5 separate regions of the Homo sapiens genome follow, and all the other regions are linked to region 3. The links are contacts of gene promoters, found by promoter capture Hi-C in blood cells and fetal thymus (Javierre and others, 2016). All regions are on one chromosome and are shown on one strand. The core of a region is centred on a gene start or on the middle of the fragment in contact, and the rest is flanking DNA. Distances in the headings are between cores, read along the strand shown. Region 1 has its middle 72 kb from the start of LINC02948. Region 2 has its middle 9.6 kb from the start of LINC02948. Region 3 holds the start of LEPROTL1 (leptin receptor overlapping transcript like 1). Region 4 holds the start of LOC107986883 (a long non-coding RNA gene). Region 5 holds the start of LOC107986935 (a long non-coding RNA gene).

Region 1 (2,700 bases), core at 91-2,590, 610 kb before region 3:
GTGTGGTTTATAACTTTTCGTGGCTAGATAATGTATAGGAGAAGAAGTTATAAATGTAGTTAGGCTCTTGATGATGGGAAGCCTCATATTATAGGCCAAGAACTTTGGGTTTTACCCCAAAAGCAATTGTAAACCACTTTAAGAAAAGTGTGACATAATCAGATTTGCTTTTAATACTATACCAGTGATTGTTTGGGGTATTGCAAATATATATTTTTACCCCAGATTTGAAATGCCACTTTGTCCTATACTAAATACATTTACATCTATTTCTGGAATTTTAGGCCTGTTACCTTGAACTGTCTGCTTAATAATATTTTTTGTTTTTTGTGTTTTTTTGAGATGGAGTCTCACTCTTGTCATCCAGGCTAGAGTGCAATGGCATAATCTTGGCTCACTGCAACCACTGCTTCCTGGGTTCAAGCAATTCTCCTGCCTCAGCCTCCCGAGTAGCTGGGATTACAGGCAACTGCCACCACACTGGACTAATTTTTGTATGTTTAGTAGAGATGGGGTTTCACCAGGTTGGCCAGGCTGGTCTGAAACTCCTGACCTCAGGTGATCCACCCACTTCAGCCTCTCAACGAGCTGGAATTACAGGCGTGAGCCAACGTGCCTGGCCTAATAATGTTTTAATATGACATTATTTTGTTTACTGTGGCTTTATGTTTTAATATTTAGTAGAAATTTTTTCTCCATTGTCCATTTTCAAAATGGATTCCTGGATAAACTGGCTTAATAGTTTTCCTATATTAACAGTCTTAGTCCATTTGTGTTGCTCTAAAGGAATATCCTAGGCTTGACAATTTATAAAGAAAAGAGGTTTATTTGGCTCACGGTTCTGCAGGCTGTACAAGAAGCATGGCGCCAGGATCTATGTCTGATGAGGGCCTCAGGTTGCTTCCATTCATGGCAGAGGGTGAAGAGTAGCTAGTGTGCAAAGATCACAAGATCAGAGAGGAAGCAAGAGAATGGAAGGAAGAGTTGCCAGGCTCTGTTCAACCACCATGTTTAGTTTTCATGGAAACTAAGGGTGAGAATTCACTTGCTCCCTCCAGCGAGAATGGAACCAAGCCATTCATGAAGAATCTACCCCCACAATCCAAATACCTCCCACCAGACCCCACCTGCAACATTGTGAATTAAATTTCAACTTGGAGGGCCCAAAGAAAACAACTTCAAACCATTGCATTCACTTCACAGTTCTCTAGTCCAGATGTGCTTTCCTCCTTAAAAAAAAAATTCTGCTGTTCTTTGCATTGGGATCCCAATCCCAAGCACTGCTGTCTTCAGGGGCCAGCATGATGTATCCTCAGCTCCTCCTCCACCTCCTCTCCTAACACTGCCCTGAATTTTCTCTGCCTTCCCCACTCTGGCCCCCTTGCTATTGCTCAAACATGCCATGGCCTCCCATCTGCTACTGTCTTCATCTCTGTTCAGCAAGATTGAGTGGCCTCAACTTAGGACCAGGACCCCATCTATAGTCATTTGGGTGGGACTTTTCTCTACACCCTGGGATTTGGGGATGTGGCAGGTCCAATGTCCCGGTCAGCAGGTGGCGGACACAGGTCCTGGAACTGAGGCTGAATCTTTCCCTCTGTTTTCCCTAAAACAGTCCCAGGCATTGGGCAGGTGCCATTTTTTTCAGCTGCCTCTTGAGTGGCGTCAGGCCTGATTCCCTCTCAGCCTCAAGCAGGAACAGGTTGAGTCCCTGTTATTCAAGCAGCTGACCTCTCAGCAGCCTGATTCTGGCCCCAGAACCCTGCAGGCTGAAGGCTTCAGTTCCACACACTGCTTTGGTTTGGATCTGCATCTGGCTTTTGGAGATCTTTAGCTTGTTTCTGAGACCACCTGTGTCTTAGTGGGTTCCTCTTCTGATATTCTATCTCTCATTTTTATGTGTTCAGTACAGAGTGGGTGTGAGGAAGCATGAACTTCTGTGCACCATTGTGACTAGACCACTCATTTATCTTAGCAGACACTCTGAGGTCTGTCTCTCACGAGCTCCTGCTAAAATAACACATTAACCAGCCTGTACTTGTGTGGCGGTTTGGGGGTGCAAATGCTGGACCTTGCAACAATTCCTTCTAACAGCAGCCCTGTTGGAGGAAAGGCAGGTGGGTGTGACTGCAAATCTGTGGTCTCCAACCACAGCAGGGCCTCTGCAGTTCTGCACAGAAGCTCAGCTGGCTTCCTCTTGTCAGCCTCAGCACTTGATCTGGCCCCTCCATCACAGCAAATATGAATAACAGTGCTGACATTGTTCTTATCAGTACGAATGGGGCCGTCAAGTTAAACACCAGCAAGTCCTCTCACTCTTCAACTGTGCTTATCCTTCCCTCCAGGAATTCGTTTTTGTCTCCAGGAATTCTCTGCCTAGAGAACAACACAGTTGCTCTTTACCCTCACACAACACTTCTAATAGATGTGTGGGTTGGTTTTTTTTTTTTTTCCACCCCAAGCAAGTCTCCAATTTTCTGAATACCAGCTAGGAGTCCTACAATTTCATTAAATTCTGATACTATCTACCTGGAGTTAGCATCAGATCCCATGAGTTCAGGGCTCAGTCTCACAAGACTGCACCCCCCACTTCAGACACCAATCAGGAGTCCAGGCCTGTACTCCCAGGGACTCAGGATGCTGAGTGACCAGCTATAAGTTAGGGTTCCTGATCTCCTCCTTGGGTTTGATAATTTGCTA
Region 2 (2,700 bases), core at 192-2,691, 540 kb before region 3:
ATTTTTTGAATGAATAATGTATGCTTTTGGTACAAAATTCAAAATTACTAATGAGAATGTAGATACAAGTTAGCCTTCTTCTGACTCTTGCTCCTTAAATATCCAATTCATCTACTTGGTGGGGATAAATATTCACAGATGGGACAGCACAGAGGGGAACAGAGGTTTAGGGCTAACAAGCGGAAGTATTTTATGGAAGTTCGCACACTGAATGATGCAAGTCCCGGTTTTCTTTCTCCATCTTGTTCCTGGAAAGCAATCAACCAGGCATATATTCTCCTAGATAGGAAATGGTTGGATTACTTGGCTGGAGAATATAACCTTGGCTGTCAATATCATTGGGTCTTTTCTCCTGGGTTGGTAAGATTCCTCAAAGTAGAATATTTTAATATCTTGCTTGGAGGGCATAAGCCTACTGCTAACATTTTGAGAAAAAGAGCAAGCATGGGAGTGAGTGTTGTCTCTATTTAGTATGTCAATTTCTACTTAATTTTTCTGTTTCTATTATTGTACTACCATCTTCAACTATCCTTGGTCACTAAGTTCAGAGACTCTGTTTTACCTCCTTTAGAGAATGTTAAGCCTTTAGTGTTCTGCTGGGGTGGAGGAGGGAAAGTCATCTGGTTAAGTTGAGTAAGGGAAAGGATCTATTGTTTTAATTGCCTTTCTATGCTTGAAATTGCATAATTTCTCTTGATTTGTTTTCTTGTTTACTGACACTTTCCTTTGTTATCTCCTTCCTACTCTTCTACCTAGTAAATATTTTATTTCAGATATTATACTGCTCAGTTCTAGAATTTTTCTTATGTTTCTATATCTTTTCTAAGATTCCCTATCTTTTCATTCATTATAAGAATATTATCTTTTGCATCATTGTGCACAGTTATAATAGCTCCCATAAAATCCTTGTTTGCTACTTCAAACATCTGGGTCATCTCAAGGTCAATTTCTGTTAATTATCTTTTCACCTGAGAATGAGTTGCATTTTCCTGTTACTTCATATATGGAATAATTTTGGATTGTATTCTGGGTGTTGTGAATGTTATGTTGTGGACAATCTGGGAGAGAGTTGTTGTTGAATTTATTTATTTTAATAGGCAATTGCTTTGGTTTGATTCAAGCTAAAAACTCTGATTTTTGGTGATAGTTCAGATCTCCTTGTAGTTCCTGCATATTTAGCTGATATGTGTGCAGTTTGCCCTGTGCATGTGTAGCTAGGGAGTAGCTCAGAATTTACACACTTAATTTGTGGCTCCCCTTCTTTGGCCCCTCCTTTCCAATATTACCCCTTTATTTCCCCTGTGGTTGTGGCTATAGTGGCCCTGAACTCTTTTCTCTGGTTCTTCAGACCAGAAAGACTGCAGATTTTCTATTGGAGTTTTAGCAATGCCACCTGGCCACCTTTCCTAGGTCCAAGAAATAGGAAGAAAAGGGAAAATTACTCTGCTACCTTGTGCCATTCCCTTATTCCAAATGGCAACTCCCCTCCAGAATCTACCTGCTTTTGTTCACTCTGCAGTGTTTTCGGATTTTTTTTAAAAAGTTGTTCAAAGTTTATTATTATTATTTGAGGCAGAGAGGTCCAGTGGGAGTTTATTCTATTAGAGGTGAACTCCTAACAGCTTGTCAACAACCTTTTAAATAACTCTATTTACCATTAACTCTGCTTCCAAAGTAACCTGGTACCACTAATTTCTGAGCTTTTTCAAGGTTCTGTGGTATAAATGACAATAGTCATGGTTAGTATATTCACCTCTAAAAATTATTTCAGTAAGCATAAATAACATGTAAGCAAAGTGGGAGGTAATGAAAGATTGTGTCATACAACATTCTAAATCAGACAGAATTCCTGCTGCTCTTCCATTTGGTCTCAAAATGGCATTGGCTAGGTTTTTTTCAGCCTCATGTTGGCCAAAATAAGAGCCTTTCTTTAAACCAGTGTTCTAAAACATTCATCATCTCAACTGTTTTGGATTATCAGTTGGCTGCAAACCAGGGGGTCACCCATGGCAGCATGGTACAGACCATGTCTGTAGGTTTTCTTTTCTTTTGATTCCAATGAGAACATCAGAGAAACAAAGAGCACTTCTTTGCAAGATGGACTCTTCTAGAGAAGATGGTCGGCCAATGGACTGTGGAGACAAAGGTCAGAATTGTGGTCCCTTGGGGCATCTCATCTTGTTAGGATCATCATGGTCTCCTCAGGCTGAAGTTCATGAGCCATGAGTCCCCAGCACCTGATTCCCTCAGCACCTGATTGTTCATGAGGTTAGAGCAGTTAATACTGAGACTGTTGCAATTCTGTGAGTAAATAAGGTTTTTATTTCTGTGTTGGAATTTCTTGTTTTGTGCACCTGGTTTGGATATTTGGTTTATTTGCATAAGAATGCACACGTGTAGCTTGGGATTCAACTCAGAGAGGGACTTTTAGAAAAGTCTAAAGTCAGAGGGGACTATTGTCTATGTGAGTACACTTTTTAAAGCATCCCTTTCATTAGCTATCAAGGCACAAGCTCTGTTTCCTAAGGAAAGTCACCCCAAACAGCTATTATATAAACTACAAAAGAAGTAGATGTGGACATAATTAAGCACATTTTTATTTCCAATTGAAATACAGTTGGAAACTCTTTAGGGCTCAAGTCAAAACTTTTGGCTTTGTTCCCTGGTCCAGAATTCAAAACAATTTCTCTCTCTGGAATT
Region 3 (2,700 bases), core at 201-2,700:
TGCCTAACACATAGTAAATGTTCTATAAATAATTGTAGGATGTGTAAATAAAGGTGTTGAACCTGGGCTTTCACTTTTTTTTCCTTGCCTTGTTACTACCAAAAAGACAGCCACCCAAGGGACTGGATTTCTATTAAATCCACCCTTTACTGAGCCCTGCTGCTCCTATCTCTGGAGGTGGGTCCTCACCAGAACCCTAGTCCTGTATAGGAAACCAAGGAGCCAAGTGCAGACCACCCAACTAACCTTAATTATAGGACTGGGGATGGAGGGATGGAGGGAGAGAGGAAAAGGCGCAGTAAAATAATGTGCGCAGTGGCTCACACCTGTTGTCGTAACCGAGCGAGTTATAGAGAAACACCACACTTTGAGACTAATTCAGGAGTCCTTTATTGCCGGCGACCGAGAGACGACTACAGCTCAAAATTCTCTCGGCCCTGAAGAAGGGGCTAGATTTCTTTTTATACCTTGGTCTAAATAGGGAAGGGGTAGTCTAGCTGAAGCAATTTTTACAGAAGCAGAACAGGCAAAGAGTTAAAAGATAAATGGTTATAGAAACAGTTACAGGAAAATAAACAGTTCCAGGTGCATGGGGCTTAAATTATCACAAAGAGATAAACGCAGGGGCTTTGGGTACCATCAACCGAGCGCGTTCCCAGGAGCTGCTGGTACAGCTTGCCTCAGTATCTTATCAGTAAGCACATTCCTGGATGTGCTTGGTGTCAGTCTGCACCAGTTATGTCCTTAAGGGAGGGGGACAAGGTGCTGCAAGCGAAGAAACCAAAATGGAGTCTGTCCCGCTCTCTCAGCTAAGAGCGAGTCAATCAGGTTAAAACAAGGTAGGGTATCAAGCTGTAATCCCAGCGCTTTGGGAGGCCGAGGAGGGCAGATCCTTGAGCTCAGGAGACCAGCTTGGGCAACAAGATGAGAGTCTCACACCCCGCCCTGTCTCTACAAAAAACAAAACAAAACAAAACAAAAAAAAGCCAGGCATGGTGGCTCATGTCTGTGGTCCCAGTTACTGCGAGGCCGACGTGAGAGAATCACTTGAGCCCTGGAGATCGAGGCTGCAGTAGCCGTGATCACACTCCAGCCTGGGCGAAAGAGACCCTGTCTCAAAAAACAAACAAAACAATGTGAAATTAAGCCAAAAGCCATCACACGTGCATCCAAAGGACGGCCGCTACCCGCGACCCCTTCCCAACGCACGCGGGAGGTTGCGGGATCAGGGACAGGGGCTTCAGCAGGGAGCCCCCAGACCGGCCCTGACAGGAATTCAAGACCTGGCGCCTGCTCATTCCCCCAGTCGGGGCGGCGGCGGCAAGCCTCGGCCGGCGGCGATCTGCACACCCGCGGAGAAGAGAGGCAGGGGGTCGACCCCACAGCCCAGCCCGGCGCGTCCCCCGCGCCCCCGCGCGAGCCCGAGTCGCCGGCGGAAGTGCTGCGTCGCGCACTTCCGGGTGTTGTCTGGCCGCCGTAGCGCGTCTTGGGTCTCCCGGCTGCCGCTGCTGCCGCCGCCGCCTCGGGTCGTGGAGCCAGGAGCGACGTCACCGCCATGGCAGGCATCAAAGGTGGGCCTGGGTTGCAGGACGCGGGAGGGCTGGGGCCGGCGGGGGAAGATGGGCCGGGGGTCCCACGCGGCCCCCGCACTTCCCCTCCGGGCTCGCGCGCGCGCGTGGGGTCCCTGCGCCGGGGAAGCGACCCCCGCCCCGGCCCTGCGCTTGGCCCGGAGGTGGGCGCGGCGCCCTCGGGCAACGGACGGTTGCGACCCCGGCTTCGCCCCGCAGCCCCCACTTTCTGCCGATTTCGGCAGCCTCTCTCCCACCCATCGCCCCCCGGACAAAATATGAAGTGGTTGGCGGTCAGTGAGGAGTCCCGTCGCGACTTGGACGGCCACACACGTTTTGCAGGAGTTTGCATCCGAGAGAGAGGCAGGCAGAGCGTGGGATTGAGAAGGCTGAGGCTGCTAGAGATGCCAGCTATGGAAAACCAGTCATTTCCCACCGAAAGGCACAAGTGCGGTCTGCGGGCGCTGCACGGGTCTGCCCGAAACCTCGACCCCACGTCCACCCCGGCCGCCCGCGCCCGAGGCTTTACAGGCTCCCGAAACGGGTGCATTTTCATCTGCGGTGTCTGGACCCTAGAGTTGATCCTGTAGGCGACCCCAAAGTGCTCCTGGCTCTCTTCCCTCTCCGCAGTTGCACCCTGAGGCTTTTTCAAATTTCAAAATTTTTCTTTTTTTCCTTTTTTTTTTTTAAGAAGATAAAATACTGGTACAACTTAATGAAAAACTACTGGCTTATTCATGTATTTTCTTTTAAAAAAAGGAATGTTGCATTTGTTCCACCTGTTAGGTAGTTTTGTTGTCAGTGTGATGAGAAGCAAAGTTTTCAGCTACTGCTTAACTAATTACATTGATTTCTTGACCTGCCGCTCTGTAGAAGGGCAGTCAGGCAGGAAGCAGGTAACTTTGGGAGCAGTGGTTTTCTTTGTATTTTTTCTTCTCTAAGGAAAACTTAATCGAGTTTTTTTTCAGGGTCACAGTCTTACTGTTTCTTGTTTATTTTCAATGTCTGAAAACATTTCATTTCCCATATAAAACCTTGTCATTTAAGCAACTGGGATACTTTGTAATCTCCTTTTGAACTATGATAGACTCTAAACCCTTATGTGAAAGGCAGTTATTGTGAATTGCTGTGG
Region 4 (2,700 bases), core at 2-2,501, 580 kb before region 3:
GAGGCATTAGGAAGCAGATCTGGCTTTGTCTTCAGGGCTCTTTAAAACAGTAGTCACCACACTTTTTCTTAAAGGGCCAGGTGGTAAATATTTTAGGCTTTGGGGGTTGTGTGCTAACAGGCAAAATCAAGGATATTATATAGGTACTTACAGAACTATTTAAAAATGCCACCATTTTAAAATGTAAAAACTGTCTGGGCACAGTGGCTCATGCCTGTAATCCCAGCACTTTGGGAAGCCGAAGCAGGAGGATCAGGTGAGGCCAGGAGTCCAAGACCAGTCTGGGCCATATAGCATGATCTTGTCTCTTAATAAAAAAATAAAAATAAAAAATAGCAGGCATGGTGGCATACACCTATATGTCCCAGTTACTTGAGAGGCTGAGGTGGGAGGATTGCTTGAGCCTACAAGTTTGAGGCTGCAGTGAGCTATTATCGCCCCACTGCATTCTAGCCTGCATGACACAGTGAGATCTCTGTGTCTAAAAAAAAAAATTAGTTAAAAAATGTAAAAATTATTCTTAGCAGGCTGACTTTAAAGTCAGGCTGCTGGCCAAATTTGACTTTGAGGTTGTAAAGTGCTGATCCTTCCTTTAGAGAACAGGGATCAAACTAGGGTTCAGCTCAATTTCACTTAAGGTCTATGATATTCCCAGGCACCCATAGAATTATTTTTTTCTAGGACTTTTGTACGACACAGGTCTTCGAGAGCAGAGGTCACTTGGATTGGCCTGATGGGTCAGTGTGTCTTGCACTCTGCCTTGGGGTGTTATTTATTTTGGGTTTGATGGGTGTGTGCCTTGGTTTGTGGAACTGGTTCACTCAGGCTTGTGAACTCTGGTTCTACACATCTCTTCCCAATTCCACATGCAGTGATGTCACATTGGTGTCTTGAACCTGGCCATACAGACAATATTGACACCATGGAAACTGGCAAATGCTGCAAATCAGGGCTTTTTGAGGGACGGTGGGATGGGAATAAGCAATTGTCAACATTTACCAGCATACCACTGGGCATTTGCCTATGGCATTAGCTTTCCCTAGAGAATTTTCTGGTGATGGTTATATGTCACCGGGAGGGAAATATAAAGAGGTGACAGAAGAGCAAAATTAACTTGATGGGGAGAAGGGAAGTGTCCTGAATGAGCTCCAGGCTTGCTAGTCACTTGCCTACTGGACACCTCTGCTTGGATGTCCCAGGAACCCAAACTCAGAAGTCCAAAATGGTCCCAGTATCTCTCTGCTCCCAATAAATAGTGCTGGAATCATCATGAAGTGTTTACTCTCTCTTCTCTCTTTGTCTTTCACCTTTCCTGCCTCCATCAAACAAATGAACCCTCGGGTCTTGCTGACAGTGCCTCTGAGCATTATGAGATCCTTTGTTTCTTCTATTCACTTTCTTCTCTTATTCTCACCCTGGCTACCATTTTCTCCTGTCTGGCCTCCTAGCTCATCTCCTCTTACTGGTGACTCACTCTTTTAGTCCATTTCTTGGCTTGCATAATCTTCTGGATTGCATATTTGTTCTTATCACTCACCGGCTTTACCCTGCAGCTGTACCCCATGGCATCTCGAGTGAAGTCTAAACTTCCCAACATGCTTTGCAGGGCCTGCCTCACAGCCTCATCTCTAACCCCTGGGGCTTCCCACTCTATAATTCTGTACTTTGGTCACACTGAACTTCTGCTGCCTGGAATGGACCTCACTTCTCATGGGCTGTCCTCTCTCCCAGCCTCAGTGTTGTCAGGCTCATTCTTCCCCGCCCTTCACAGAAAGGCTCATTAAGTCTTACTTTCCATGGGATGTTTCCTTCACCTTTCTGCTTCATCCCCTCAGGGAAAGGGCTGTCAGGGAATGCACAGCCTGCTTCCTTCCAGAGCCTCATCTGTTCAGGTTACATGACCCTCTGTGCTGACACCCCTATTCTGCTTACTAGAGGCTATTGTGATGTCTCTCTGTGACCCTGAAATGTATCTGCCAAACTCTTAAAACAACGCTATTGGAAGACATCCAAAGCTCTTCTGGGCTGGGCGCAGTGGCTCTTGCCTGTAATCCCAGCACTTTGGGAGGCCAAGGCAGGTGGATCACCTGAGGTCAAGAGTTTGAGACCAGCCTGGCCAACACAGAGTGAAAACCCATCTCTACTAAAAATACAAAAATGAGCTGGGTGTGGTGGTGCATACCTGTAGTCCCAGCTACTTGGGAAGCTGAGGCAGGAGAATCGCTTGAACCCAGGAGCCGAGATCATGCCACTGTACTCCAGCCGAGGCAACAGAGCGAGACTCCCTCTCAAAACAAAAGCAAAAAACAAAAGCTCTTCTGAACTAACCTGGTGAATCCCAGAAGTTGGACCTTGTAGCAGGCGGATGCAGCTCTTGTAGGAGATCCTGGTGCTGGCATACTGTCCTCAGACTACCATCCATGAAGACAGCGTGCATGGTGGACAGTTCTTCCTGACATTCTAAGGCCCATGGGAAACACTTTCATTCTTCTCTCTGTGCATTTGGTTTTAAAGCTCTGGCCTTTCAAGTACTGCATGTTCTCACTTACAAGTGGGAGCTGAGCTAAACAATGGTTACTCATGGACATACAGAGTGGAATAATAGACACTGGAGACCACAGATGGTGGGAGGATGGGAGGACAGTGAGGGCTGAAAAATTACCTATTGGGTACCATGTTCACTATTCGGGTGATGGGCAC
Region 5 (2,700 bases), core at 101-2,600, 560 kb before region 3:
AATTGTTAAGTTTTTTGTTGGGGTGGTGGTGGCGGTGGGGTGTGTATCTCACTATGTTGCCCAGTCTGGTCTTGAACTCCTGGCCTCAAACGATCCTCCCGCCTCCGCCTCCGCCTCCGCCTCCTTAAGTCTTGGGATTACAGGAGTGAGCCACAACTCCGGCCCAGCCAGTTCATTCTTAATAACTTTAATACATAAAAATGGACCATTTTAGTGTCCTGAAATAAGCAATGATTTCCACCATCCGAATATGGTGTGTAATGACCTCCAGACGCCTAGTTACCATCTACATCCATAGCTCAGCGATCAGAGCTTGCCCTGAACGGACTCCTTTCCCACTGCAGACAAGTAGGGGGTTTTGCCCGTAAAGAAGGAGCTAGTCTACGTGCGGCTGCAGTAGGCCCTGCGCCATCCGTCATTTCTCGGCTTCCTCCCACGCGCCTTCATGCGGATGTGTAGGTATCTCCTCTCCCTGGCTGAGTCAAGTCACTCAGAGACTGAAAAGAGAGAGAGGATGTGGCGTGAAGCTGAAGCCTGCACCCAGGGCCTGGCACCTACTGGGTTGGGCTTGGCGCTGCGTGCTTGCATTTCCGCGGATAGACCGAGATGGCATCTGGGCTGTGACACTGGCTGCCCAGCTTTTCTTTTCTTTTTTTCCAACAGCATCTGGAAGAGGCTCTGGGAGGGTCCAAACAACAAACCACGCGGCGTTCTCTGGTGGCTGTGCTGGGACGAGTGGGCGGAAACAGCCGCAGGTCTCTCTCTTCTCTTCAGCCTGAAACTCACTGCACAAATACCAGAGGTTTTTTTTAGAGATTAGATAAATTTGCATCCTTCTCCCCCCAACCCCGCCCCTAAGCCAGAGGAAGTGCTTGAGGAAGTAATGTGTTTAAAGAATGTGGGGGAGGGGAGCTTACATTAGGAAGCAGGACTCTTAGCGTGTAGCCAGAAACCCCAATAACCTTTAAGCTGTTAACCCTTGAGGATACGGCTCAATGGTGTACCCACGTGGAGTTCATTATTTATCTCCGAAAGCCCTGTCTGTCTCTCATTCCGACCCTTAAACGAATCATCTGCAGTTTGGCCAACAATTCAGTTCCAGCTCCCTGGGAATACCAGCAAATCCCGGGACAGCTGTTCCTTCTGCTGAAAACACCAGGAAAATCCGCCCAGGAGCTCAGGCTGTTTGACCAGAAAGCCTGGTGTTGGTCACTGTCAGAGAGCACGAACAGAGGGAAGAGGAGGTCCTTGGCTGGGTCCTTCATTTTTTTCTTTTTTTTTTTTTTTTTTTTTTTTTGTCCTTGGGAGCTTGGATGAGCTTGTCTTTGATGCCTTAATTGTTTCTGCACTCTTTTCTCCCTTTCATAAATCCATTGAAACGATATATATATTTAAGAGTAAGGCAAACCTCAAATTAGGCTGTCTGTAGAACTGAGCCTCTGCAAAGAGAGTAATTAAATTATTGGCATGAAACGGCAGGAACCCTGGAGGGGACGGCAGGGAGAAGGCACTAGTAAAAGTGGAAGGAAACTACTTGGGAAGATATTGGTGCCTGTGCTGGGGAATGACATATACCCAAACCATTTCTCATCAGACTTGAAAATACCGTATACATCTGTGTATGTCAGCGGATGTGCGGCAGATTCCCCTGCCCCACTGGTCTGTCTGAATGTTCTGTCTCTGTTTAGCCTGGGTGAGATGGAGGAGGATTCCCTCTTAGGGGCTTGCCACGCCACCCCTCCTCCACAGTGTGGAAATAAAAATCTTGAGTTCCTTTAAGGAAAATTGCAGGCACCTAGCTATCCCTGAGAAATTAATGAGCAACTTCATAAGTAAAAAGGTAATCATACCATAAAACAATAGCAATAAAATTAGAGCCATGAGATGTTTGGTTCCCTATAGAAACTGAAGATACATCTTAACATATGTTCCTGAGTTATTTTTCAGAAACCCAGACCTCTACCAAATGGATCTGCTGGCACGCAGACCTCAGAAAAGGGGAAACTGAGGACTGAACTCTGACTGCTATTTCTTGTTCTGCATTTTTTCTTGAAGGACCTGAAGGAAGTCACGCCCATGGGCCAGACCTAACGTTCTTTAATGCTGACTCTCAATTTTTAAATAGAGCTTCCCTTCCTTAACCAACTGCAAATCAGAAAATTGTTGAATCCCCTACCCCGTGACCTGTAAGCCCCTGCTTCAAGATATCCTGTGTGTTAAGGTCAAACCAATATGTAGCCTCCATGTATTGACTTATGACTTTGTGTGTAACCTCTGCCTGCCTGCCTTTAGAAACCCTTGCTTGCAAGCCACTGGGAAGGTCAGGTGAGCTGCCTGATTCTCCTTGCTGGGTGCCCTGAAAATAAACACCCTCCTTTCTCTCACTACAAAACCTCAGTTTGAATGTTTGGCTTCACTGCCCTGGAGGCACAGACCTCAGTTCAGTTGGGCAACATGGGTCTCGGGGTGCTGAAAGCCACTTTTTATTTTCATTAGGGACTTGCTCATGCCAAACATCCTGAATTTAAGTAGAACTTACTAGGTTTGGGGTGTTTGTGGGATGGGGTCCCCTTGTGGAGCCCTGAGCCTTCTGCCATCCCCTATCTCTGGTCCCCACTAATTTTTTTTTTTTTTTTTTGAGATGACATTTTGCTCTGTCACCCAGTCTGGAATGCAGTGGCACAATTTCAACTGACTGCA

What was found. Contacts are between HindIII fragments. The CHiCAGO score rates a contact against its expected background, and 5 or more counts as called.
Region 1: a fragment that was not itself captured here is called in contact with the fragment with the promoter of LEPROTL1 in region 3 in 4 of 17 cell types (total CD4 T cells, non-activated CD4 T cells, activated CD4 T cells and 1 more); the score reaches 9.7 in total CD4 T cells.
Region 2: a fragment that was not itself captured here is called in contact with the fragment with the promoter of LEPROTL1 in region 3 in 2 of 17 cell types (total CD4 T cells and total CD8 T cells); the score reaches 8.9 in total CD4 T cells.
Region 4: a fragment that was not itself captured here is called in contact with the fragment with the promoter of LEPROTL1 in region 3 in 1 of 17 cell types (activated CD4 T cells); the score reaches 5.0 in activated CD4 T cells.
Region 5: a fragment that was not itself captured here is called in contact with the fragment with the promoter of LEPROTL1 in region 3 in 1 of 17 cell types (activated CD4 T cells); the score reaches 5.1 in activated CD4 T cells.

The regions. Positions count from the first base shown.
Region 1 is chr8:29,488,537-29,491,236 of GRCh38, forward strand. No RefSeq gene overlaps it. Among named protein-coding and RNA genes, the nearest start is that of LINC02948, 72 kb to the right of the region's middle. RefSeq lists enhancers at 1,668-1,727, 1,983-2,488. The HindIII fragment of the contact is 9,682 bases long and covers 1-2,700 here.
Region 2 is chr8:29,551,324-29,554,023 of GRCh38, forward strand. No RefSeq gene overlaps it. Among named protein-coding and RNA genes, the nearest start is that of LINC02948, 9.6 kb to the right of the region's middle. The HindIII fragment of the contact is 4,053 bases long and covers 1-2,700 here.
Region 3 is chr8:30,093,958-30,096,657 of GRCh38, forward strand. It overlaps LEPROTL1 (leptin receptor overlapping transcript like 1), which reads left to right and starts at 1,451. Exons shown (of 4, transcript NM_015344.3): 1 at 1,451-1,571. The coding sequence starts at 1,556. RefSeq lists a silencer at 1,299-1,758. The HindIII fragment of the contact is 3,733 bases long and covers 1-2,700 here.
Region 4 is chr8:29,511,970-29,514,669 of GRCh38, forward strand. LOC107986883 (a long non-coding RNA gene) reads right to left here and starts at 1,876. Exons shown (of 2, transcript XR_001745702.1): 1 at 1,792-1,876. The HindIII fragment of the contact is 4,538 bases long and covers 1-2,700 here.
Region 5 is chr8:29,529,128-29,531,827 of GRCh38, forward strand. LOC107986935 (a long non-coding RNA gene) reads right to left here and starts at 1,217. Exons shown (of 2, transcript XR_001745860.2): 1 at 918-1,217; 2 at 172-785. It overlaps LOC105379350 (a long non-coding RNA gene), which reads left to right and starts at 489. Exons shown (of 3, transcript XR_001745859.2): 1 at 489-755. RefSeq lists enhancers at 1-1,120, 139-1,080, 528-777. The HindIII fragment of the contact is 3,667 bases long and covers 1-2,700 here.